Regions from separate parts of the Homo sapiens genome. Here regions 1, 2, 3, 5, 6 and 7 are each linked to region 4. The links are contacts of gene promoters, found by promoter capture Hi-C in blood cells and fetal thymus (Javierre and others, 2016). All regions are on one chromosome and are shown on one strand. Each heading gives the region's core, a stretch centred on a gene start or on the middle of the fragment in contact. The rest is flanking DNA. Distances are from core to core; before and after follow the strand shown. Region 1 overlaps SETD2 (SET domain containing 2, histone lysine methyltransferase). Region 2 overlaps CCDC12 (coiled-coil domain containing 12). Region 3 has its middle 39 kb from the start of PTH1R. Region 4 holds the start of PTPN23 (protein tyrosine phosphatase non-receptor type 23). Region 5 overlaps NBEAL2 (neurobeachin like 2). Region 6 overlaps SETD2 (SET domain containing 2, histone lysine methyltransferase). Region 7 overlaps SETD2 (SET domain containing 2, histone lysine methyltransferase).

Region 1 (2,700 bases), core at 28-2,527, 310 kb before region 4:
CCTGAAAAGATATAGTTGTTCATTACAGATCATCCTCTGCATCTCATGGATGCAAAATATTTCTCCACAATAATTTGCAAATATCTAGCCACACCAGACTAGATATTTACAAAATATTATGGAGAAACGCTCATAGGTATTTAAGCTTTGCTTGTGTGCTACTAATAGTTTTAACTCAGTGATCCCAGAAAGCTAGCTTCTGATAATCAACCCTATAGTGGTGCCACTGGTTTTGCCAACCACTATTGCCCAGTCCTGCCTTCTTTTTTATAGGAAGAGTTATTTGCAGCCCTAAGTAGAATGTGAGGCTATGAAGAGACTAAACCAGAGAGTGGAACTAAAAATATTCGAAAGACAAACAATGGTGCAAAGGTTATCTCACAGGTCTTTAACCAATAAGACTAAGATTATATAAAAAGTTATGCACACCAAAAATAAAAAGACAAAAAAAAAAAATCACACTGGCTTCTTCATTCTACTTTTAGTGGGTCAGTGGTGGAGGTACTCATGAAACCAATAACCACCATAAGTGACCCTATTCCTTGAATCTCTAAGTAAGTGTGCTGGAAGAAAGGAAGGAAATTCTTAAGGCTGGGCATAGTGGCTTACATCTGTGATCCCAGCACTTTGGGAGGTGGAAACAGGAGCACTTAAGGACAAGAGTTCAAGCCTAGCCTGGGTAACATAGCGAGACTCTGTCTCTACAAAAAATAAATAAATAAATAAATAACCAGGCATGGTGGCACACACCTATAGTCTCAGCTACTCAAGAGGCTGAGGCAAGAGGATTGCCTGAGCCCAGGAGTTCAAGGCTGCAGTGAGAGCTATGATGGTGTCACTGTGCTCAGCCTGCATGACAGAATAAGACACTGTCTCTAAAAAATAAATCAATAAATAAGTTTGTTGGAAATGTAACTAAGTGGTAAAGTCCAGAAACCAGATTCCCATGGCCTCCCTGCTATCCATTCTGAAACAATGATTCTAACTTTTTCAGGGGTGACTGAGAATCTGATCAAAGTTTTGAACTTGCCTCAGAAAAGTAAATACAGTCAACCCTTGAACAACATGAGTTTGAACTGGATGAAAGTCCACTTATATGTGGATTTTCTTCTAACTGTGCCACCCAAGACAGCAAGACTAATCCCTCTTCTTCCTCGTCAGTCTGCTCAAGGTGAAGATAAGGATGAAGACCTCTATGATGATCTATTTCCACTTAATGAAGAGTAAATATATTTTCTCTTATGATTTTCTTAATAACATTTTTATCTAGCTTACTTTATTTTAAGAATACAGTTACATAATACACATAACATACATAATATGAGGAGTCAAAAGTTATGTGGAATTTCGACGCACAGGGTATCTGTATCTCCTATGTTGTTCAAGGGTCAACTGTGTACATACAGAATTTTACATGTAAACATCTTTTTTCCTTTTAGAGACAGGGCCTCACTTTGTTGCTCAGGCTGGAGTACAGTGGCACGATCATGGCTCACTGCAGCCTCAATCTCCTAGGCTCAGGTGATCCTCCTACCTCAGCCTCCTGGTAATTAGGATTATAGGCACACACCACCACACTTAGCTAATATTTTTGTATTTTTTGTAGAGACAGGGTTTCACCATGTTTCCCAGGCTGGTCTCAAACTCTTGGGCTCAAGCAATCCACCTGCTTCAACTTCCCAAAGTGCTAGGATTACAGGTGTGAGCCACCCTGCCCAGCTGCATATAAATATCTTGAGGTAAAGACCCTCCCAAAGACATCTAGAAGTATAGGTTTAAGAATGTCTGCTCTATCTGGTGCGAAGGAAAAAAAAAATCAAAATCACAATAATAAAAGAAAAAAAGACTAAATAAAAAAAATAAAGAATGTCTGCTCTAGAGGACAAACGAATAGAAAAAAAGCTAGTAAAGACTGAGTTCAAGGAAAGCGACAACAAAACAGTGTAAGAGACATTTCCTTTGGCAAAATGCATTAAGAATAAAAGCACAAGTTTCCAAACTTTTACACCAAATATTTCATTTACCTAGTTATATATTCTCTAGTTTCAAAAACAAAAACGCTTAAGTTCTTATCAGTTACCTCTGCACATAACAAAAGAATATTTGTAAAGCCATCAACACAGAGTATCTCTGAATACCTACTTGTGTTTTCCTTTTCAGTTTGACTTTTCTTTGGAATTCGATATACCTCCTGCAAAAAATAAACCAGAGGGAGGGTTATTAGTGAGGGTGGAAATGGTGATTGCTTTGAAACTGACTGTTTTCACATGACAATAAAGAAATGGAAAGTAACAAGCTGGTACTTATTCTCTAAAATTTGACTTATATCTGGGCTTTAAATAAGAATATATCCTGGCCCCTTAAAAACAAGAAAAAATATATAGCAGAAATACATATATTTACATCTATCAAGCTTGTACGATCTCACTAGCAAAGCAGCATACTAAATGACTGGGCAAGGATACGCTTCCTGAGCATCTTTTTTTTTTTTTTTTTTTTTTTTTTGAGACAAGGTCTTGCTCTGTCACCCAGGCTGAAGGGCAGTGGCATGATCTCGGCTCACTGCAACCTCTGCCTCCCAGGCACAAGCAATCCTTCTGCCCCAGCCTCCCAAGTAGCTGGGACCACAGGTGGATGCCACCATGCCCCGCTAATTTTTTCTATTTTTGTAGAGATGGGGTTTTATCACATTGCCCAGGC
Region 2 (2,700 bases), core at 135-2,634, 440 kb before region 4:
GCATGGGAGGGAGGACATGAGACCTCTGGAACTGCTGACACGGGAGTGGTAGTCAGACACTCTGCTCACAAAGATCAGCAGCACAGCTTTGCCTCGCTCACCCCACACACTGGTTCCGGCAACAGTTTCCAGGCTCCAGATTTTTGGGAGGCAAAGCAGCATCTGAGGCTCTGTGGAGGTTGCAGCCCTCAAGACTGCGGGGGAAGACCTTGTGCCTGCAATCACGAGGGAAGTGTACCCAAGACCCTCACGTGTGCTGTGTTTAGGCAACTTAAGTGGACCCAACCAGATGAGAGTATTCGACAAAATAAGATAAATACTACAGAGGGAAATGAAGCCAGAGGGACACAGACAACGAGAAAGGCGCCCTTTGAGCTGAACTCTATGTGAAGACCCAGACATCAAAGGTATAGGAGAGATGAGAAGGACCTCCAGGCTGAGAGGACGGACAAAAGACTGGTCAGGAAATGCTGAGTGGCCAGAGGTGGCAAGGGCCGACCACAAAGGGCTCTGGCTAGAGGGAAACCAGAGGAGGTTGGATGAGGCTAGATGGTCCAGGCAGAGCTTCACATGCCAAGTGCAGAAGGGGCACTTACTCAGTAGGCAATGGAGAACCACGCCACAAAAGGTGTATGAGAAGGGTAAAAAGGCATAATGTAAGGGCTAGAAAGAAAATGCTGGGGGCTGAGTAACAGCCAAATGGAAAATGAGGGAAAGGAGGCAGAGAAGGCCTCGACAAGGGCCTTCTGAGATGTTGAGATTTTAAGGTCTGAACAGGACAGCCATGGGCAGAAAGAAGAGGGGAGGGAACAGGGCAGACACTGAACAGAGTTGGGAGGACCCAGAGACTGGGAGACCGATGAGTGCTGGAGGAGAGAGCAGACCCTGGAGCTGCACACGGGCATTACCTGTGCTTCTCGCCTTCTTCCTCCTCTTCTCTGAGATGCTTGGTCTTTGGCTCCCCATCTTCCTTGTCCTGCAAAGAAAGGGAGAAAACCACCAGCTCAGTTGAAAGCTCCTACTTCCAGTCCACGTGGCCCAGGGAGCTAAAGAACAGGACATCTCAGAAGGGGGGCACCTGGCAGGGCCCAGCTTGGTGTCCCAGACTCCAACAGGGTACACGCCTGCTGCATCTCATAGGCACAACTGGAGCCTCATTGCCTGTGCAGAATTTAAAAATCCATAACTCTTGGCTGGGCGCGGTGGCTCATGCCTGTAATCCCAGCACTTCAGGAGGCCGAGGTGGGCGGATCTCGAGGTCAGGAGATCGCAACCATCCTGGCTAACACGGCGAAACCCCATCTCTACTAAAAACACACAAAAAAATTAGCTGGGCGTGGTAGTGGGCGCCTGTAGTCCCAGCTATTCGGGAGGCTGAGGCAGGAGAATGGCGTGAACCTGGGAGGCAGAGCTTGCAGTGAGCCGAGATCAAGCCACTGCACTCCAGCCTGGGCGACAGAGCGAGACTCCATCTCAAAAAAAAAAAAAAGCAACAAAAAAAGTCCGTAACTCCAGCCCAGTCCCAGGTACCTGGTAGCCCTTAGAGAACACTCACAGAAAGAGCTGGATGGCTTTAGGTGGTGAGAAATGCAGCCACTTGGTGCCATGGAGGGGCCATGCTGGCAGGCCAGCAGTCACCTTCATGGGTCTAGACAGAACCACCTGCTAAGCTAGGAAAGACTGGGGAAAGAAGTTACCAGCAACCAGGGCAGGATGAGAGCTCAGGCCTCCTGAGACACCTTTCAGGCCAGAGTCCTCTCCAGAAATACCTATTTGATTCGCTTTAGAAGTAACATGAACTAGGACCAGGCTTGCAACAAGATTCACTGCCTAGGCCTATGCTATATTCAGGGAGACAGAGGCAAGGGGAATTAGTCTGAAGTTTCCATGAAAATTTTCTTAATCTGGTTCTTTTGACTTCCCACCAACTGCACCTCTTTTTGAAGTCTACAGAGTCATGTTCATCTCAACCTTGACATGTTATGCTTGTTCTCAGGTGCACTGGGGGCCACAACAGAAGGAAACTGCCATACTGCTTCCACCTGAAGCAGAAAATGTCTTCCTGGACTTTATCCTTTATTATGTGATTACCTCTGTTAGGTCAGCCTGCCTGTGGACAAACTGACGCAGGGCGTGTGTGCACATGCACAAATTCGTGTGACCACACCTGGGGCCCAGGGCATGGACTGAGAGGCCCCAAGACAGAGCTGTCGTGGGTCTCCCTGCATGCCAGGGTTGGCACTCCAGAAGGTGACAATGCTCACTTCACTATGGCAGCGTCCTGCCTTTGACTCTCGCAGAGCAGTGTTCTAAGAGAGATCTGTGAGCTCCTTCCATTGGGAGCCTGCTCTGGTGGACACAGAATGCGCTGGAGCCTGCATATAAATTATAAGTAAAACAGCTACTTGAACTACCTTTCCTAGACATTTATTTATGCCATTGACAACTGCCTTCCTAAGAATGGTATCTGCTTTATGTGGAGACTGCAGGCATCAACCAGACCCTGCCATTCCTTGGCCACACAACCTCCGGGGAGCAGACTACCAAAACCAGGTCGGAGGCCTGGCCCAGAGAAAGGCTTCTGTCATGAGAACAGATCAACATGCCCCCCACCCCAACTCAGGGCAGCTCATCTCATGGCAACGAGGCAGCGAGAACAAAATAACTGACCAAGTGACAGCAGCTACACGAGAGAGGTCA
Region 3 (2,787 bases), core at 202-2,701, 460 kb before region 4:
GCAAGTTGTATAAAAATAAATACATATAGAGAATAAATTCCCATCACTCAAGCCAAGAAAAACACTTTGCCATTATCTCAAAGGGCCCCACTCCAGAGCTAACTACAAGCCTGAAGTTGACGATCACCACCTTGCTCTTCTGCCCTGGCCTTACCACCTGCGTGTGTCCTTACATTGTCTCACTCCGCCTGTTTGGAACGTCACACAAATGGCTCATACTCTATTTCTTCCGTGACTTGCTTCTTTCAACATCTATCCATTTGTTGCACATGACTGTAGCTCTTCTCACAGCTATGGAACATCACACTTTCAGAATGACAACTTATTATTACCACATTCTGGCTTTGATTTAGTGTGTGTGTGCACACATGTGCCCGTGCTATTACAAACAATGCTTCTACAAGCATTTCTGTCCCTGTCTCCTGGTGTACATGTGCAAGTTTTCTAGTGCACTAAGAGCGCAACTGATGGGTCCCAGCGTGCACATGTTCAACTTTCCCAACGTGGTTACACATTTCACACTCTTATGGCTGTGGGTGAGAGGTCCCACTGCTCCACAGTACAGTGGTGTAGCTAATGACACTTCTGAAAGTCTCCCTTGCCTGGCCTCACTCCTGCCACCTCCACTTTCTTTTGTTGATCCTGTGCTTGATAGAGCTTTTCTAGTCCCATTAATCTTTGTTTCTATTAATTTATGAGGCAGGGTCTCACTCTGTCGCTCAGAACTCCCAGGCTCACATGATCTCCCACCTCAGCCTCCCAAGTAGCTGCGACTACAGGCAGGCACCACCCCGCCTGGCTAATTTTTTTATTTTTTATTTTTGTAGAAGACGGAGTTTCACCATTTTGCCCAGACTGGTCTTGAACTCCTGGGCTCAAGCAATCTGCCTGAGACTCGAGCAAATTCAGCCTTCTCAAGTGCTGGGATTACAGGCATGAGCCACTGCACCCAGTCGGCTTCAGGTTTTTTTAAACTCAGCAAACTGAGTTTAAAGGAAAAAAAAAAAGAAAGAAAAGCAGTCTAATACCTTGCTATTACTGATATATCTGGATTCAACTACTCAATCCACCTTTTCTCTCTGCTTTCTTTTGGATAGTTACTTTTTTCCCATTCTGGTTTTTTTTTTTTTTTTTCCTCTCTCATCTCCTCTGAAAGTGGTACACTCTGTTTCTACTCTTTTCAGGTTACCCCAGAAATGTCAAGAGGCCTGTTTCCTAGTCTTATCCCTCTTCCTAAGTGAGCGTCTTCAAGGACTGTAACCCCAACCACCTCCTACCTCTGAACTTACATACCATTGTTGTTATGTATTCTAAATAGCCCCTGCTTTACCCCACAACACATTTTTGTTTTACAAGGTCAGTGCTTATTTACATTTATACTTCCTTTCTCTGGACTTTCCATCTGGGATTGTGCCCCTCAGTCTGAAAATATCCTTTATGATTTTTTTAAAAGGAGAATGCTTATTTCATTTTTAAAAAACAACTTTATACATATACAGCCCACCCATTAAAGTGTACAATTCAATGGCTCTTGGCATATTCAGCATATTCACAGATTTGTGCAACCACAATCACTTTTAGAACATTTTCATTACCCCAAAATAGATTTTCATTTAGTGAGAGTCTGCTGGTGACAGAATCCCTGACTTCGTTGGTCTAAAAACATCTTAGGCCAGGTGCGGTGGCTCAGGCCTGTAATCCCAGCACTTTGGGAGGCCAAGGTGGGCAGATCACTTGAGTTCAGGAGTTCAAGATCAGCCTGGGCAAAATAGTGAGACCCCATCTCTGCAAAAAAACAAAAAACACGTCTCATATTTTCCCTGAGTATGCAATTCTAGGATGACAACTTTCTTTCATTCCTGTTTACACTGGTTATAGCTGAGATATCTGCTGCTATGTTGCTCCTCAAAAGGTAGTATGTCCTTTCTCTCTGATTTTAAGGTATTTTCTTGGTCTTTGTGCTCTTTAATGTTATTACAATGTGATTAGGTATGTGGTAGTTTTTAAATAAGTCCACAAATTCTTACACAGTCCTCCCTTCAGGAAGTGGAAGCTAATTCTTCTAAGTGTCGACTGGGCGTAGTGACTTGCTTCTAACAAACAGAATGTAGCAGAATATCACTTCCAAGCCCAGATCATAAGAAAGCCCCACAACGCTCCCTCCTGCCTTCTTTCTTAGACTGCCACTCTGGGAAAGCCACCTGCCATGTCTTGAGAACACACAGGCCGATGGAGAGGTCCATGTGGCAAGACACAGGGGCCACCAATCAACAGCCCCATGAGTCATCTTGGAAACAGATCCTCCAGCCCCAGTCCAGCCTTCAGATGAGTGCAGCTTCACAACTGACCCCAAGCTAGACTTACCCAGCTAAGCCACTCCTGATTCCTGGCCCACAGAAACTGAGGTAATAAGTGTTTGTTATTTTAAGCCCCCGAGTTTTGGGTAATTTATGTGTAGCAACTGATGATTAATAAAAAGTGTAGAATTTTTTTAAGTAAATTTGCTTACTTAGAATAAACATACAAAAAGGGCATAAAACATGTATACAGTTCAATGAATATTCATAAAGTAAAAATACCTAATCATCACCCAGATGAAGAAACAGAACATTTGGATGTATAGTTCTTCCTATTAACCTGCCTGAGACTTACTGGTCTTCTTGAATCTGTGAATTGGTGATTTTTTCTGGAAAGTTCTCAGCCAGTTTTTAAATATTGCTTCTGCCTCATTTTCATTTTTTTTTTTTCCCACCTGGAACTCCGTCACTTTACGTTGGATCTCTTCAT
Region 4 (2,782 bases), core at 157-2,656:
CCCGCCTCGGCCTCCCAAAGTGATGGGATTACAAGCGTGAACCACCGCACCCGGCATCGTGGTCTCCACATTTCATCCAGAACGAGTCAAAGGCCTTGACCTCGAGCTTAACACGGACCTGAACCTTTGCTCTTCCCTTGTTTTCCCTTATCAGTAAACAGCCCCACAGCCACCCACCTGCACAAGCCAGAAGCTTGGAAATCATATTCGACGTCCTCATGCCCTTACATCCATCCATTCCAAGTTCTGATACTTTTGTCTCCAAAATATTCCTCAAATATTTCTCAAAGTGGGCAAAATATTTCTTTGCTCACTTTTTACTTCCCTCTGCTCCAAGCCACAATCACCTGTCTCCTGGAAGACTACAAAAGGCTCACTGATCTCCCAGCTCGCACTTTTGCACTCACTATCTCCAGGCCATTCTCTGTTATTTCTATTGTTACTATTATTATTTTGAGACGGAGTCTCGCTCTGTCGCTCAGGCTGGAGAGCAGTGGCAAGATCTAGGCTCACCGCAATCTCCGCCTCCCAGGTCAAGCGATTGAACCTCCAGCCTCAGCCTCCCGAGTAGCCTATTATTTATTTCTAAAAGTAGGTGATACAGCCATATGATTTAACAATTCCTGCTCTATAGGTCCCCTCTCCAGAGGCAACAGGTGCTCTCCATTCCGTGGTCTCCTTCCAGATACTGTGGGCGTCCCTGGGTGCTCACCTGGCCGTATACCTTCCCCCACCCACTTCCCCACAGGGCCCGGGGCCTCCTCACTCCGCTTGAGACCCTCCATCCAGGCGCTCCCTCCCTATCGTCCGTCTCCCTTGGGCACTGCCCGGCCTCCCAGGCTGGGCTGAGTAGGCCAGTCTCCGGTCAGTGATTCTGTTCCAAAGCTCGAAAGCCTTCGCAGCACTGGGACTGAAACCCCCAGCTCTCAGCCCCGACTCCTTCAGGCCAGGTGCTCCCTCCGCACCCTCTCTAAGGCCCGTTTTCGCGTCATCTCTTTCCAGCGGCCCGCCCGCCACGTCATCTCTACCACAGCACCAGTCCTCCACGGCTCTTGACAATACGTGGGAGGGCAAGTTCATAGGTGAGGTCTCATGCTCTTCCTAGGAGGGAGGAGCGCGGCGGGCGGGACCCGCAGCTGGGCTTGGCCCGGGAGCGGGGAATAAGCTCGCTCCGCGCCTCTCAGTTTAGTGGATGAAGACTACTATCCCAGAAGCCGTTTCGCCTCGGGCTGGCGAGCTCCTCCCCGCCCTACTCCCTCCGCGCGAAGAAGACTGAGCATGCGCAACAGGGACAGCGCCTGCGCAAAAGACTACGCGAGCGGGTGGCTGGGTTCACTGCAACTCCCGGCAGGCCGCTGGCATTTTTCATTCCCTCCCGTGACCAGTGACTTCCGGCACGAAGGGGCGGGGCTGGGCTCGTGGCTGAGCCAGCAGCTGCAGCAGCTACGGGAGTGGCCGGGTGGCCGGCGGGTGCCAGCCGCCATGGAGGCCGTGCCCCGCATGCCCATGATCTGGCTGGACCTGAAGGAGGCCGGTGACTTTCACTTCCAGCCAGCTGTGAAGAAGGTGAGCTTGCCTTCCATCTTCCCCCCTATCCGCCGCGTATCTCCGTCGTCTGCAAGCGCGTGACGCCCCCCTGCGCGCCCATCACCTCCTCAGGCCCGGTCGCAGGGTCCGGTGAGGCCAGGAGGGGCCTTCGCCGGTTTTCCTCAGCCTGTCCCACACCCCGGCGCCCGCAGGCCATTCTTCTCCTCCCCGATAGCCCCGTGCTAGCACCTGCATCTTCATCTGAACCCGGTTCCCGACTTCTGCCCCGAGTCATCCGCTGTTCCCACTGAGGCAGCACACTTCCTCCTTCTGACGCTCGGACCCAGTTCTGCCCCGCCCCTCCTCCATGCCAGGACCGCCCCGCGCGGGAGCGGTGGGCGGCCCTGACCGTGCGGATTCTTTTGCTGCGCCCGGCCCTCGGTGCGCTGTCAAGTCCACGCCCGCCTGGGACAGACACTGGGGATGGCTCAGGGGCGTGTGTTTAAGACGTGAGCCCCGGTGGCCCAGGGAGATGCCCGACCCCTGCGGTGAGGGTTTGTTTTACAATTGCTGCGATTCTGTATGGTCTCCCATTCGGGAGTCTCTTTGGACCAAACAATACAATCCCACGACATTTTTAGGAGGGTTACTGCTTTTCGTAACCGACTGGAGGGCATAAACAGTGTTGTAGAGCTCAGAGAAATCTTACTGTGTTGGAAGAACAGACGGGCAGGTTTGGCGTTGACTAAGGCAAGGAACTTCTGTGGAGAGGTTCAGGTGTGGTGATTGAACACAGGTGCCCTCCGAGACATCCGCTGTATTGGTAGCACTGAGGGCTAGAGCAGAAATGAAAAGGAACAACCAGGAGGCCGTCGCAGGTGGGGGGCCTTGTGGGCTTAGCACAGCAGATGCCAGAGTAAGCCCCAATCTAGATGGTGCACCACTTAGCGAGACGCTTGGGAAGACAAATAGGAAAAAGAAAATGGGTTTGGAAGTAGTTTCCCAAGAAGCTGTCTCCCCTCTAATCGCCATACACCATTGCCTTAGTTCAGACAGTGTTTGAGTCCATCATCTAGCCTCTTGGGGCCAGGAAATGAGGGTAATTGATCCAAAATTCTAGAATTTTGTTAACGGTTATCCAGACGTTGCTCTCTTCTTCATCTGCTGTTTCTTTTTCCTACCTTTTTTTTTTTTTTTGAGACGGAGTTTCGCTCTTGTTGCCCAGGCTGGAGTGCAATGGCACGATCTCGGCTCA
Region 5 (2,750 bases), core at 214-2,713, 380 kb before region 4:
CAGCAAACCTCTGAGGAAGAGTTGTGCAATCTGCTCACCAACGTGCTGTTCTCGGTGACGTGGCGTGGCGTGGAAGGCAGCGATGAGGCTGCCTGGCGGGAGCGTGGCCAGGTTTTCTCAGTGCTCACCCAGCTGGGGGCCTCAGCCACACTTGTGCGCCCACCAGACTGCATCAAGCGCAGGTGAGAGGGAAAGTCTGGAGGGGGAGGGGCTTCAGGAAGCCTCGGGGGAAGGAGAGAAGATAGTCAGGTAGACCCTTGAGTTCCCCACTCACCCGCCAGCCTCCTGGAGATGATGCTGGAGTCAGCCCTGACCGACATCAAAGAGGCCCCCGTGGGGGTCCTGGCCAGCCTCACCCAGCAAGCGCTTTGGCTGCTGCGTCTGCTGCAGGACTTCCTGTGTGCTGAAGGCCATGGTAACCAGGAACTGTGGAGTGAGAAGGTGCGACCCCTCAGAGAGGCGTGAGCCACATGAACACTCATGTTCATGCAAGCCTGCAGGGATCTGGTCTGGGAGGTGGATGGGTACACGTGCGCAGGTGTGGGTGCATCAGCATGAATGCCTGTGAGTGTGGACTTGCCTGTGTGCACAAACCCTACCTGGCCCCCAGCGCAAACTTTACTTTGCTCCCTTTCCATGGACTCCTGGCCTCCCCTGGTGATGTCTGTTGGGAACCTGTTTTCTGTGGCAGCTCTTTGAAGGTGTATGCAGCCTACTTGATCGCCTGGGAGCCTGGCCCCACCTGGCCAACGGCACAGCTGATCTCCGTGAGATGGCGCAGATTGGCCTACGGCTTGTACTTGGCTACATCCTGCTGGAAGACCCACAGGTGAGCACAGGGTGAGCATGGGGGCAGGGGGCGTGTGAGATGTCGGGAGCTCCAAGAGTGGCTGGGTGCCACTCATCTCTCTTGCGCCCACAGCTGCATGCCCAGGCCTACGTGAGATTGCACATGCTGCTACAGACTGCAGTGCCAGCCCGCCGCGAGGAGGCCTGCTATGTGCTCTCCAAGCTGGAGGCTGCACTGGGGCGGGTGCTGAACACCTCTTCCTTGGAGTCAGCCACTGATGAGGCAGGGTCCCCACTTGCAGCTGCAGCAGCTGCAGCAGCTGCAGAGCGCTGCTCCTGGCTGGTGCCACTGGTGCGCACGCTGCTAGACCGTGCCTATGAGCCGCTGGGGCTGCAGTGGGGACTGCCCTCCCTGCCACCCACCAATGGCAGCCCCACCTTCTTTGAAGACTTCCAGGCTTTTTGTGCCACACCCGAATGGCGCCACTTCATCGACAAACAGGTGCCTGGAGGTTGGGGCCCAGGAAGAGGAGTGGGGGCTGGGGCCCACATCGAGCACTGTTCTCCTCTGCCCAATCCTCCAGGTACAGCCAACCATGTCCCAGTTCGAAATGGACACGTATGCTAAGAGCCACGACCTTATGTCAGGTTTCTGGAATGCCTGCTATGACATGCTTATGAGCAGTGGGCAGCGGCGCCAGTGGGAGCGCGCCCAGAGTCGTCGGGCCTTCCAGGTGTGCCACCCGGGGTAAGGGATGGGAAACTGCTCCACACATGCACCCAGGAGATGACTGACAATGTGGAGAAACGGGTAGGGCAGGCAGCAGCCAGGGGACTGACCTATTACCCCCACCCCAGGAGCTGGTGCTGGAACCTGCGCAGAGGCGGGCGCGCCTGGAGGGGCTACGCTACACGGCAGTGCTGAAGCAGCAGGCAACGCAGCACTCCATGGCCCTGCTGCACTGGGGGGCGCTGTGGCGCCAGCTCGCCAGCCCATGTGGGGCCTGGGCGCTGAGGTGGGCCGGGCTTGGGGCAGGGTCGCTGTGGAGGGGTGGGGCTTGGGAGGGAGGGAGCCACCTGGAGCCCCAGACTGCCTTTGGGGTGAGGCCAGGGAGGGATGGGGGTGTCTACAGCCTTCTACCGACCCATGACCTGGGGGACATTCTGCAGGGACACTCCCATCCCCCGCTGGAAACTGTCCAGCGCCGAGACATATTCACGCATGCGTCTGAAGCTGGTGCCCAACCATCACTTCGACCCTCACCTGGAAGCCAGCGCTCTCCGAGACAATCTGGGTGAGGGAGTGTGCTGAGATGGGTCCACCCAACTCGATTGTCCCGTCTCCTGTCCTGCCTTGCTTCTGCTGAGTACCCTTGGCCCCTTGCAGGTGAGGTTCCCCTGACACCCACCGAGGAGGCCTCACTGCCTCTGGCAGTGACCAAAGAGGCCAAAGTGAGCACCCCACCCGAGTTGCTGCAGGAGGACCAGCTCGGCGAGGACGAGCTGGCTGAGCTGGAGACCCCGTGAGTGGGGCCCTGGAGAGATTGGACTGGTGTGGTGGGCAAGGGGTCTGCTCCAGTGTGTGCATGCCTCTGTGGGATCAACTCCCTGAGTGTGTCCTCTTCTGCTGCCCGACTACGTCCCCCTGAAGGGACTGTCCAAAGCCAGATGGTGAGTGGGAGAGTCTCCTAACAGGGCTGAGAGTTGCTCTTTTAACAGCCAGGCACCTGAGGACAGCACTGAGAAACACAAACCAGAGCAGGAAGGGGGCCCAGGGAGTGGGCAGGGGCTGGGTGAGGGGAGCAGGGGACAAGGGTTGGCATCCTGGCAAAATATTCAGAAGCCCAGTGGGTGGCAGGTGGGGGACAGGGGCTGGGACCAGTAGGTTCTGGACCCTAGGCAGCCCCTCCCCATCTCTGGGAGTCATGAGAGTATATACCCCATGACTCAATGGCACTTGG
Region 6 (2,734 bases), core at 203-2,702, 360 kb before region 4:
AAAGGCAATCTGTCTTGCCTACCTCAAGGGCTGTTGTGGGGACAAAATGAGTCAATGGGTACTGAAGTGCTTAACCAGTTGAAAAAGGCCACACCTCTTTCACCAATGTGTCATTCACATAACAACTAAGTCAAATCACAGAAGCAAGAGGAATACCCAAAGACAAGGCAGCCTACCACTACAGACAGCTTTCTTTTGCCATAGATGCTACAGAAGGCCCACAGTCAAACAAGCAAATGTGGTCTGAGAGGGGCTCCTGTCAAGCCAAGAAAAGATGGCTGAGGAGTTTTCAGTGCTAAAAGAAGCACTTCAGCAAGACATACACACAAGGAACACCTTGTGTTCCTGCCTATCTTGGGGCAAAGGAGATATTCGACATACTTAGGACAAGAAATGAAAGGGTTCAGATTTAAGCCTGAGGAGCTTAGTGCTTATATCCACCAAACCTTACCTCTTTTCTGAATACTTCTTTGCTTTTCTTTGCTAGTTCACTGGAGGTGTCTGCTTCTGCTGTCTTGGGCTTTTTCGAGGCCTAAAAATGGAGGAGAAAACACAGTGGTGCTGGCATGAGAAGTCAGTTTAGTGATGCCCTACTGTCCCAGAACCCTCCTTTCTTTCCCCTAGCAGGGATACCTGATTCTTGGTATTAGAATCCGTTTAGAGGCCCTGACTCAGGTACAAGGCCTGGAGTCAACTTGGCTATTATGTTTCAAATCCTGTTACATGGTTTGGCTCTCCTTCTTATAAGTTAAGTTCCAATTCTCTACCCTAAGTCAAAGCTACAACTTTGATATAGCCACACATTTCAGAGTCACTCATGTCCCTGTTCTGGGTTCAGCTCCCTGAACTATCAAGCAAGGCCGGCACAAAACAAGCTCCATCTCTCCCACCTCTGACACTCTAGGATTCCAGGACAGAGGCGAAATGCTCTGTTCTGAAGACTCTTGAATACTCATCACCTTTCCTCCAAAGGTGGAGTTGGCTAGACTGTAGAAGACAGTCTCAGTATGCAAGAGAGGCTCCTTGGAGGTTGGTACCTTCAGTTTAGGAACAGAAAGATTAAGGAAGTATCACGATATTGACGGGGAGGTGATGAAGGTCATCAAAGCCAGTGAACAGATAAGTAGATGATGACACAGAAGATACTCTATGTCCCCAGCTGGCAAGATAATGACAAACCCAGGAACATTCCCTTCCAGCACTGCTAGAGGGAGGCTTCCAAGTTCCCTCTAACTAGGTACTGCACCAGGAGGCGATGAGTTGGAAGCTTTGGTATTCAGAGCACCTGTCATGCAGGCCATCTCCCCATACCTTTGCCCACCACTAGCCATCAGGCCCCTTCCCAGTAAATGTGCTTTTCCACGGAAAATAATAATTATGAGCATTCCCCTCCAAATATAAGTTACTTCATAATGGATCTAGAAGCTGGAGTTGATATTATAGGTACTTCACACTTTTTTGTTAGGGGCACAGGGTAGAATAATTTTCCTGCTCCCCACCCATCTCCTGGTTCTGCTTCTTCCATTTCCATAAACAGTATGAAGGCTCTGGTTCTAAAGCAGCTGGACTAGCTCCAGAGAAAGGTGGCACTCCCTTGGCTTTAGGCTGTTACAAATCAACTTTCTCTGCTGTGTCATAAAAGCTTTACGTATTTTCTATTTTTCCAATTTCTTCATGTAGCTGTATGGGGAGATTAGGGGGTAGAGTAAAAAGAATATAAAGATCCAATTTGTTTTTTAAGAAAACAAAACTAAGCAAAAATAATGCTAATAATATAAGTTAAGTCTATTTTCAAGTGTTTTGCTTTGGGATTTTGTTATTTTTTTTCCCCCAGTTGTAGATGGTATGAGTATGCTCCACAGTAAGACCTTAGGTAGCAAGGGATCAAGAATTATTTGAGTAAGTCAAGAAAACTTCAACACATCCCCAGCTACTCTCTTGTAGCTCTCAGAAGTCAGCAGCAACAGAAATGAGTACAGAAAGCCCCTTCAGGTCTGGGTATCTCAAAGATCTGGGTCCTATAGAAGAGGCCATGCTCTCAGCGAGGGTACTATGTAAATAGAAATGTCCTGTTTCACTCTGGATAGGGTATGCACTCACAAAGCTAAATGAACCCAAAGCACTTTTAATAGATTTATAATTTAATCCCTGACTTGATGAGGTTGGCGGGGGATTGGTGGGGGGTGGCCTTTAAAAACACAATTATAGAATACAATCCACTGAGCTCTGTCTAGGAGCTTTCTTGGTCCTCCTGAGTGCTGAGCAATTGGGATCGAGAAAGGAAATGATAAAATGAGGGGTCCCCAGACTTACATCATGGAAATCATGAACCAAAATGGAATACTCTTGAGAGTACTGAAATTCATGAAACCCTCTCTTCATGGTCTGTGATTTGCAAATGGCATGGGAAATAATTTCAGAAACTGGCTAACATTTACTCAAATCTAATGCCAGGCAAAGTAACCAGAGTCTGAGTTGAGGACAGCACTTGTTATTGACATGAACAACCTTAGGACCCCCCACTCCAAAAAAGTCCCATTTAAAAATTTAGCAGGTAAGGCTGGGTGTGGTGGCTCACGCCTGTAATCCTAGCACTTTGGGAGGCGGAGGAGGGCGGATCACGAGGTCAAGAGATCAAGACCATCCTGGCCAACATGGTGAAACCTCGTCTCTACTAAAAATACAAAAATTAGCTGGGCGTGGTGGCGCGTGCCTGTAGTCCCAGCTACTTGGG
Region 7 (2,700 bases), core at 1-2,500, 340 kb before region 4:
GAGATTGTACCACTGCACTCCAGCCCGGGCAACAGAGTGAGACTCCGTCTCATTTAAAAAAAAAAGGCAAAGAGAACAAGAGAGGCCCTGAAGCGATCATAGTAATGGGTGTTTTGAACACCCATCACAATTCTTGGCCATATATCTCCCTCAAATGAGTAAGTAGTTAGTATGCATCTGAGTCTCTCAATGTCTAAAAAAGGCCATTCTTTTTTTTTTTTTTTTTTTTTTTTTTGAAAAGGGATTCAGGGTTGTAATGGGATTATTTTTTATATTTTTTTATTTTATTATTATTATACTTTAAGTTTTAGGGTAGATGTGCACAACGTGCAGGTTTGTTACATATGTATACATGTGCCATGTTGGTGTACTGCACCCATTAACTCGTCATTTAGCATTAGGTATATCTCCTAATGCTATCCCTCCCCCCTCCCCCCCACCCCACAACAGTCCCCAGAGTGTGATGTTCCCCTTCCTGTGTCCATGTGTTCTCGTTGTTCAATTCCCACCTATGAGTGAGAACGTGCGGTGTTTGGTTTTTTGTCCTTGCGATAGTTTGCTGAGAATGATGATTTCCAGTTTCATCCATGTCCCTACAAAGGACATGAACTCATCATTTTTTATGGCTGCATAGTATTCCATGGTGTATATGTAAAAAGGCCATTCTTTCTCCCTGACTTCATCTCTACACCTTGATACATGCATAGTCACTCACTTATTTTTCAGAATAAAGAAAAAAGAATCCCAAGACCATGCGGGATGGTCTTGGACGGACTCCCAAATGATCAGGAAATACATGTGTAAGCCACACTCACCTTCATGGGGTTTTCATCATATGTTGGAGTTCCCAGGTCCATCTCAGCTTCATGCTCAAGGCTGGCATCATCTCCTGGGCTTTCCCAAGTAGGAGGATCCCACTGAGTCTGCCTAGAAAGAGACAAAAACAGCCATGCTGTCAGGGCTAGGAAACAGAGAATCCTGACATAAACATCACTGCTCATACATACATAAAATACAACATACAATAAGACATAGAATAAGTCAGCTCCATGAGTTAAAGACAAACTTTTTCTATCTTCCTAACAGCAATGATTCTAGCACAGAGATATGCCCCTCTTCAATGACTGTATTTCTGTGGGCAATGATGTGGCAACACTGACTGGGTGTCAAAGAGAGCAGTAAACCCAAACATCCTGTCTGTCTCTCACCTGACTCTTAATGTCATGCAAATAAGACTGGGCAAAGCCTAAAATGTACAGGAAATAGGTCCCTGCCTATGTCACCCCTCTGTAGATGAAGAGGTAAACAGTGACTGTACCTAGCATATAAATGGAGCAAAATAAATCATGTAACACCTCTCACAGTCCTTGACCACGTGAGAAAATTATCCCTTGCTTTAGGAGTTTTCTTTTTAATAGTTCTGCCCCTCTGGTTTAATGACTGACAAGAAAAATACGTACAGGTTAAAAACTTGTACCCCTGGCCAGGCATGGTGGCTCATGCCTGTACTCCCAGCACTTTGGGAGGCTGAGGCAGGTGGATCACCTGAGGTCAGGAGTTCGAGACCAGCCTGGCCAACACGGTGAAACCCCATCTCTACTATAAATACAAAAAATTTGCCAGTCGTGGTGGCGGGCGCCTGTAATCCCAGCTACTCAGGAGGCTGAGTCAGTAGAATAACTTCAACCTGGGAGGCGGAGGTTGCAGTGAGCCAAGATCGTGCCATTGCACTCCAGCCTGGGCAACAAGAGTGAAACTCTGTCTTAAAAAACAAACAAAAAAAAAAACAAAAACTTGTACCCTCTGCTAAAAATATTCCCGACCGACTGCAAAAAGAAGGTTTCGGCCATGTTAACCCTTTAAATGTTTACAGTCATTTTGAAAATAAGCAAGCAAAGATTTTTCTTTTTTAAAAAAGATCTGTAGGATAAAAAGTGGAAGTAAGGATATTCACGTTCAGGAGTCTGAAGCCAGCTGTAACAGAGAATGTTATGAGGACAGTGACTTAAAATGTCAAAAGCCTCAAAGGATCTAACAAATCTGGCAGGTCAGTCTTGTCACTACAGTCTTCTGCTTTACCACCACATCAATCTTCAGTCAACAACATAACAACATTAAAGACACTTGATATAAATCAGTGTATATACATATATATAGACTATTGTAAAAATAGGCTTACCTCTGACCTATGGAACTCATTTATTTTAAAAGGCTCAAGATTTCTACCATAATAAAAGAACCACAAGCAGCTAAGGATGTTATTATAGAAACTGAACAAATATATACATGTCTGTTCTTAGCTACCAGATAAAGAAAACCTAGAAAAGATGGGAAAGGTACACATATAAATAAGAAATACAAACTTTTTTTTTTTTTTATTCTGATATGGAGTCTCGCTCTGTGACCCAGGCTGGAGTGCAATGGCGTGATCTCAGCTCACTGCAACCTCTGCCTCCTGGGTTCAAGTGATTCTCCTGCCTCAGCCTCCTGAGTAGCTGGGATTACAGGTGCGTGTCACCACGCCCAGCTAATTTTTGTATTTTTAGTATAGGTGAGGTTTCACCATGTTGGTCAGGCTGGTTTCAAACTCCTGACCTCATGATCCGCCCACCTCAGCCTCCCAAAGTGCTGGGACTACAGGCGTAAGCCACCATGTCCGGCCCAAACTTTTTTTATTTTTGGAAGATTGATAGAATATTT

What was found. Contacts are between HindIII fragments. The CHiCAGO score rates a contact against its expected background, and 5 or more counts as called.
Region 1: a contact is called between a fragment that was not itself captured here and the fragment with the promoter of PTPN23 in region 4, in 1 of 17 cell types (megakaryocytes). The highest score is 5.8, in megakaryocytes.
Region 2: a fragment that was not itself captured here is called in contact with the fragment with the promoter of PTPN23 in region 4 in 2 of 17 cell types (neutrophils and erythroblasts); the score reaches 7.2 in neutrophils.
Region 3: a fragment that was not itself captured here is called in contact with the fragment with the promoter of PTPN23 in region 4 in 2 of 17 cell types (neutrophils and endothelial precursors); the score reaches 6.3 in neutrophils.
Region 5: a contact is called between a fragment that was not itself captured here and the fragment with the promoter of PTPN23 in region 4, in 1 of 17 cell types (neutrophils). The highest score is 5.6, in neutrophils.
Region 6: a contact is called between a fragment that was not itself captured here and the fragment with the promoter of PTPN23 in region 4, in 1 of 17 cell types (endothelial precursors). The highest score is 5.6, in endothelial precursors.
Region 7: a contact is called between a fragment that was not itself captured here and the fragment with the promoter of PTPN23 in region 4, in 2 of 17 cell types (megakaryocytes and neutrophils). The highest score is 6.3, in megakaryocytes.

The regions. Positions count from the first base shown.
Region 1 is chr3:47,064,928-47,067,627 of GRCh38, forward strand. SETD2 (SET domain containing 2, histone lysine methyltransferase) reads right to left here. Exons shown (of 21, transcript NM_014159.7): 13 at 2,143-2,191. Among named protein-coding and RNA genes, the nearest start is that of NBEAL2, 87 kb to the left of the region's middle. RefSeq lists an enhancer at 2,490-2,700. The HindIII fragment of the contact is 2,268 bases long and covers 144-2,411 here.
Region 2 is chr3:46,940,090-46,942,789 of GRCh38, forward strand. CCDC12 (coiled-coil domain containing 12) reads right to left here. Exons shown (of 7, transcript NM_001277074.2): 2 at 909-976. Among named protein-coding and RNA genes, the nearest start is that of CCDC12, 35 kb to the right of the region's middle. RefSeq lists enhancers at 1-209, 210-709. The HindIII fragment of the contact is 9,713 bases long and covers 1-2,700 here.
Region 3 is chr3:46,915,170-46,917,956 of GRCh38, forward strand. No RefSeq gene overlaps it. Among named protein-coding and RNA genes, the nearest start is that of PTH1R, 39 kb to the left of the region's middle. The HindIII fragment of the contact is 4,758 bases long and covers 1-2,787 here.
Region 4 is chr3:47,379,615-47,382,396 of GRCh38, forward strand. It overlaps PTPN23 (protein tyrosine phosphatase non-receptor type 23), which reads left to right and starts at 1,407. Exons shown (of 25, transcript NM_015466.4): 1 at 1,407-1,566. The coding sequence starts at 1,483. It overlaps PTPN23-DT (PTPN23 divergent transcript), which reads right to left and starts at 1,878. Exons shown (of 1, transcript NR_185912.1): 1 at 1-1,878. RefSeq lists enhancers at 793-1,470, 980-1,039, 1,210-1,429, 1,471-2,146. The HindIII fragment of the contact is 8,365 bases long and covers 192-2,782 here.
Region 5 is chr3:47,000,998-47,003,747 of GRCh38, forward strand. NBEAL2 (neurobeachin like 2) reads left to right here. Exons shown (of 54, transcript NM_015175.3): 28 at 4-182; 29 at 282-441; 30 at 692-829; 31 at 923-1,291; 32 at 1,374-1,523; 33 at 1,648-1,805; 34 at 1,960-2,084; 35 at 2,177-2,312. Among named protein-coding and RNA genes, the nearest start is that of NBEAL2, 23 kb to the left of the region's middle. The HindIII fragment of the contact is 5,454 bases long and covers 1-2,750 here.
Region 6 is chr3:47,019,309-47,022,042 of GRCh38, forward strand. It overlaps SETD2 (SET domain containing 2, histone lysine methyltransferase), which reads right to left. Exons shown (of 21, transcript NM_014159.7): 19 at 452-532. Among named protein-coding and RNA genes, the nearest start is that of NBEAL2, 41 kb to the left of the region's middle. RefSeq lists a silencer at 107-186. The HindIII fragment of the contact is 375 bases long and covers 1,266-1,640 here.
Region 7 is chr3:47,036,851-47,039,550 of GRCh38, forward strand. SETD2 (SET domain containing 2, histone lysine methyltransferase) reads right to left here. Exons shown (of 21, transcript NM_014159.7): 18 at 816-927. Among named protein-coding and RNA genes, the nearest start is that of NBEAL2, 59 kb to the left of the region's middle. The HindIII fragment of the contact is 4,494 bases long and covers 1-2,700 here.